Regions from separate parts of the Homo sapiens genome. Here region 2 is linked to region 1. Evidence: promoter capture Hi-C in 16 types of primary human blood cells and fetal thymus (Javierre and others, 2016). All regions are on one chromosome and are shown on one strand. Each heading gives the region's core, a stretch centred on a gene start or on the middle of the fragment in contact. The rest is flanking DNA. Distances are from core to core; before and after follow the strand shown. Region 1 holds the start of OR4K13 (olfactory receptor family 4 subfamily K member 13). Region 2 has its middle 3.4 kb from the start of OR4M1.

The links. Contacts are between HindIII fragments. The CHiCAGO score rates a contact against its expected background, and 5 or more counts as called.
Region 2: a contact is called between a fragment that was not itself captured here and the fragment with the promoter of OR4K13 in region 1, in 6 of 17 cell types (M1 macrophages, non-activated CD4 T cells, M2 macrophages and 3 more). The highest score is 6.9, in M1 macrophages.

What each region holds. Positions count from the first base shown.
Region 1 is chr14:20,034,435-20,037,462 of GRCh38, forward strand. It overlaps OR4K13 (olfactory receptor family 4 subfamily K member 13), which reads right to left and starts at 1,604. Exons shown (of 2, transcript NM_001004714.2): 1 at 1,504-1,604; 2 at 1-547. The coding sequence starts at 324. The HindIII fragment of the contact is 9,053 bases long and covers 1-3,028 here.
Region 2 is chr14:19,768,629-19,771,656 of GRCh38, forward strand. No RefSeq gene overlaps it. Among named protein-coding and RNA genes, the nearest start is that of OR4M1, 3.4 kb to the right of the region's middle. The HindIII fragment of the contact is 157 bases long and covers 1,494-1,650 here.

The DNA of each region.
Region 1 (3,028 bases), core at 354-2,853:
ACCCAGGAGGTGCATAAAGAACATCTGGGAATAACATCCCCACCATGAGATGGTCTTACGTTCTCGGAGGAAATCTACAATCATCTTAGGGGTAGCAAAAGAAGCCAGGATCATATCAATGCAGGAGAGGTTGCTAAGCAGAAAATACATTGGTGTGTGAAGGAGCGAATCAAAGGTCACAGTCACCAAGATGAGCAGGTTTCCTAACACAATCCCCACGAAGACCACAGAGAATCCCAAGAAGAATAAAATCTGAAGATTTTGAGATTTGGAAAGTCCCAACAAAATAAATTCCGATACCACTGAATGGTTTGCTCTTTCCATATCGTCAACTTTATCCCATAATGATCAAAATAAGTGAGAATAAGGGGTAGGGAAATGATGCATATTGGAAAGAAATGTTCATGTTGATGTCCACATTTGGTACTCAGTCAAGGCACTTGAACTTACAAGGACCCTTACTTTTGTGGAATTTTGTCAGTCAGTGATTTTACTAATGGCCCAGAGAAGTATCCCAAATAGTCAGTAGAATTCAGAATATAAGTTTCTGGAAGACAAAAATAAAAACATTAATAGTACATGAAACCACAAAACTATAGGTCATGAATTAGAATCAGAAGACCTCTACAGGACACCTGGGTAAGCTGCTCACTGGGTGACACAGGACAAGTAACTCTCCTTTTGAGGGTTTTCTTCTCAGTGAAAAAAAGAATTTGGACTATATGGTATCGAATGCCTCTTTCTGCTATAAAGATCTCTATGAATAAGATAATGATTCTGGTGAGTTTTATAGTCACAGAATAATATTGAGTTTTATTAATGTGGAAAGGATATCAAAAATACATCCAGGATTCTCAAGAACCATGTTTTGAAATGGACTCTGGTAAAGAAATATGAATTAGGTCCTGAGAAACTTACCTTATTTCCTCCATGCTCCATTCTTGCATGAATCCCTCACAGATCAGTATTAGCAGTAGTCACTACACACTTTTGAAGTGTCAAGTATATGTATAGTATATATATATTAAACATGTATATTACATACATTTCATATATTTATATATATTTATATAATTCGTTCATTCAACATTTCATATTATTCACATCAAATACCTCCTCTAGATGGTTAGACAATGTGTACAAACAACCCACAGTCAAATGTAATTGACTAATTTCACTTTCAGCTTGCATTCATTTATTCATTTACCTGGTTATTGCTATGTAGTGGTTAGCTGGTTGGCCTGTGTATGGTTGTCATAGGTTTCAAAATGACTTAGCTTGATGTAACATTTATGTTGGTAAAAGAAATACAGTTCTTTCAGTATAATCTAAATTTATGACAAAATTTGTCATCGGCTCATGCTTATTACAAACTGGTTCTATTGGTTCAGCTTTTAAAAAAATTGCCTCCGTTGCTAATAGTTTTAAATTAATCTAGGTCTTACAAAACACCTTCAGTAAATAAAGTATTTGTAGTCATCTTTTTGTGCTGTTATTACTTACAAGACAGGGGAAAAAAACTTTCGTGATGGCGTCGTACGTGAATCCCAGGAATGGCCTTTTATCTCCTTTTCCTGTATCCCCATCAGTTATCTGCAATTTACTCTTCCAATCATCAGAAACAGAAAAAATAGAGACCATAGTGCTATATGTTTCTATGAGATAATCCCATAGGAACACTTATCCAACTAGGGATGTATTTTTTTCCCTATGTAAACATATCTGTTGGCCAATTTCCCACTCTGAGAAACTTTGATGCAAAATATTAAATTTCATCAAATATGTAATTAGAGCCATTCATTTATATGTCTATAAAGGTAATAGCTCTCTTCAGTTTTATGACTAATATTTAAGAATTCCTACTAATGCTTCTTTTTGAAACCCAATTTTTGAAGCTGCATTTAAACAGAAGAGAACAATTTTCAAATACATACAAAGAAGTTTATAAATCCTCCACATCTGGAATAGTGCATATCAAAAACACTAAGTGAATATCTGTTGAATGAATAAACTATGTAGTGCATATTCAGGATCTAGATTAAGTCAGCTGACTTAATCCACAGAAAAATCCACAACATTAGGAATTTTAACAATATTTATTTTTAAATGTCAAATTGAATGTTGAAGTATTTTAAAATCAGAAATAGAACAGCCATTCTTAAAAAGCTGGTTAAAATATGTTTTTTTCTTTTAATTATCTTTTAAAAAAAAAGGTAGTTTATGCCAATGTGAAAAAAGCACATCACAGATAACAGAAAGACTGACTGAACATTTTAAGAGCTTCTTAGATAACTTTCCAGAAAAATAATACACACTTCAGTACAGTGTGTGTGTGTTAGTGTTACAGGTATTTATATTTATATCATTTTATTAAGACTGCAGATTATATATTATATGTATAGCTATTTTTCTTGAGTTTTTAACTTATTACATTTAAATATGTTTATATTAACATATAGAAACATAACTTTTTAATAGGTGTATAGAATTCCACTTTGTAGATGTTGCATAATGTAATCTCCCCACAAATACAGTTTATTCTTAGAATGAATTTAACATTACCTATAAAAATTATTTTTCATCATATCACTCTCTTCTTTATAAACCTGTGATAACTACCTTATCAATCCCTAACTTCTCCTGGATATTCATAATCAACTCCTCACCCACCCTAAAAATCCAATATTATTTTCTTTTTTTTTCTTTTTTTTTTTTTAATTATTATACTTTAAGATTTAGGGTACATGTGCACAATGTGCAGGTTAGTTACATATGTATACAAGTGCCCTGCTGGTGTGCTGTACCCACTAACTCGTCATCTAGCATTAGGTATCTCTCCCAATGCTATCCCTCCCCCCTTCCCCCACCCCACAACAGTCCCCAGAGTGTGACATTCCCCTTCCTGTGTCCATGTGTTCTCATTGTTCAATTCCCACCTATGAGTGAGAATATGCGGTGTTTGGTTTTTTGTTCTTGCGATAATTTACTGAGAATGATGATTTCCAATTTCATCCATGTCCCTACAAAG
Region 2 (3,028 bases), core at 322-2,821, 270 kb before region 1:
TACATGAATTTTCCAGTTTTCCTGTTATTATTGATTTTAGTTTTACACCACTATGGTCAGAAAATATATCTGATATGATTTCAGTCTTCTGAAATTTGTTAAGACTTGTTTGTGGCTTAACATACAATCTGTCCAGGAGAATATTCTGTGTAAGCTTGAGAAGAATGTGTGTTCTGCTGTTGGATTGAATATTCTGTGTATGTCTATTAGATTCATTTAGTCTGAAGTAGTTCAAGACAATGTTTTCTTAATAATATTCTTTCTGGATGATTTATCCATTGTTGAAAATTGGATATTAAAGTTCTCTATTAATATTGCATTGCAGTCTATCTCTTGCTTTAGATTTGTTAATATTTGCTTTATATATTTAGGTGCTCTGATGTTGGGTGTATTCATATTTATAACTGTTCTATTATCTCAATGAATTGACTTTCTTATCAATATCTAATGACCTTCTTTGTCTCTTGTGACAGTATTTAAAGTCTATTTTGTCTGATACACATGTAACTGCTACTGCTCTTTTTTGATTTTCATTTTCATGGAATATTTTTGTTTTTTACCCCTTTACTTTTAGTCTGTGTGTGTTATTAAAGGTGAAGTGAGTTTCTTGTAGGCAGCATTAAGTTGGATTTTATTTTTATAAATCAATTCAGCCACTCTTTGTCTTTTGATTAACAAAATTTGCTTATTTATAGTTGGTAAGTAAAGATTTATTATTGTCAATTTATTAATTGTTTTCTGGTTGCTTTGTAGATCCTTTATCCCTTTATTACTCCTTTGTTGTTTTCCTTTGTGATTTGATCATTTTATTTGGTGGTATGCTTTGATTCTTTTCTGTTTATCTTTTGTGTATTTACTATAGATTTTTAATTTGTGGTTGCCATGAGGCTTACATAAATATTCTTATTGTTTAACCAATTCATTTAAAGACGATAACATCTTAACTTTGATTGCTAAAGAAGCTCTGTACTTTTACTTCCCTTCTCTTACATTGTGCTTTTGATGTTACAGTTTACATTTTTTGTATGTCTTAAGAATTTATTATAGCTATAGTCATTTTGCATACATTCATCTTATAACTTTATAATGATGGTGTGATTCACACCACCACCATTATAGTGTTTGAATATTCTAAATTTAACCATATATATACTTTACCAGTTAGTTTTACATTTTTGTATGTTTTAATGTTACTAATTAGCTGCCTTTTATTTAATCTTAAAAATCCCCCTTTAGCATTTCTTGTAAGGCAAGCAATAGTGAAGACTCACTCAACTTTTTTTGTTTTTCTAAAAAAGTCTTTATCTTCTTCATTTCTGAAGGACAGCTTTGCTGGCAAAATATTGCTGGTTGGCAGTTTTATTTTTCTTCCATCACTTTGAATATATTATTTCATTCTCTCCTGATCCTCAAGGTTCCTGCTGAGAAATCCACTGATAGCTTTATTTGGGTCCTTTTTTATATGACATGATTCTTTTCTCTTGCTGCTTACAAGCTTCTCTGTTTTTGATTTTTGCCAGGCTGATGTTAACGTATGTTTGTGGATTCTTTTTTTGGTTGAATTGACTGGAGAACTTTAGGCTTCGTGCATGTGGATGCTCATTTCTTTCCGGATATTTGCTAAGTTTCCCATGATTATTTCCTTAAATAAGCTTTCTATCTAATGCTCTCTCTATTTTTCTTCTGAACCTACGATAATTCTAATGTTAGCTCTCTTGATAGTATTCCATGGCTTCTGTAGGTTTTATTCTTTTTTTTCTTTTATCTCCACTTACTGGATGATTTAAAATGCTCGGTCTTTGAGTTCACTTATTTTTTTATTCTGCTTCATTTAGTCTGATGTTCAAGCCTCTATTACATTTTTTTTTAGTTTAGCTGTTGTATTTTTCAGCTCCAACATTTCTGTTTGGTTCTTTTTAAAATATTTTCTCTCTTTATTGAGCTTCTCATTTTGTTCTTGGATTGTCTTCCTGATTTCATTAAACTATTTATTTGTGTTCTCTTGTAGTTCCCCAAGATTCCTTATGTAATTATTTTGATTTTTTCCAGGCAATTTATAGATCTCCAATTCTTTGGGGTTGGTTACTAGAAATTAATTTTGTTCCTTTGGTGGTGTCATGTTTTCCTGCTTCTTTGTGATCTTTGGGTGTTGATTTTGTCAGTGACTAAACCTGCTGGAGTCCTCTGTGGAGTTAAGTACTATAGTTTGCGCAGTGATCATTGTGGGTTCCTTGGTAGTGAAAGCAGTGTGGTATGTGCAGCTGATAATGGCAGGAGACAGACAGATTCCTAGGCAGACAGGTATAAGTCCCTGGTGAATCCCAACCTTCAAGCCAAAGACAACATGAAGCCTGAAAACCAAGCCACCAGTTCCAGGTGCAGTCCACGACCCAACTGAGAACTTCCTCAGTGCCTTTTAGTCAATTAAATGGTGCTTTTTCCAGGCCTGCCCATGAACCAGTCAGCACACATTCCTCCATTCTGAGCCCATAAAAACCCCAGACTCAGCCTCACAGATGGCTCTCTGCTTTCAGTCCCACTCTTACACAGAGGGCTACCCACTTTGGCTACTCTCTTGTTGTCATGAGTTTTTCTGCCGCTCAGTAAAAATCTCATCAGCCTTGCTCACTCTGCGGTGTCTATATGCTTCATTCCTGTTGGTTGTGGGACAAGAATCCGGAATCCACTGAACAGTGGGTGCGAAAAGAGTTGTAAGACACGCTCCTGTTCACCAAGCTACAGGAGTGAAAAAAAAAATGCTGGGTGCCACACGTCCCCAGTTGCTGAGCTGTGGGCAGCAGGACTGAATGAGCTGTGACATACCCCCATTTGCTGAAGCTGTCGGCAGTGAGAACGAACAAGAGCTGTAACACTTCCTGGGGGCTCAGACCTTGACTCCCAGAGGAAAAGCTGTAACACCTCTTTGGGCTCCACAGTTGCTGGCATCTCTGAGTTTTTGGGCACTGCTGCATCCCCCTTATCCAGATGTCGGTGTTCAAGGCAGAAGTCAGTCATAGCATGCCCAAAG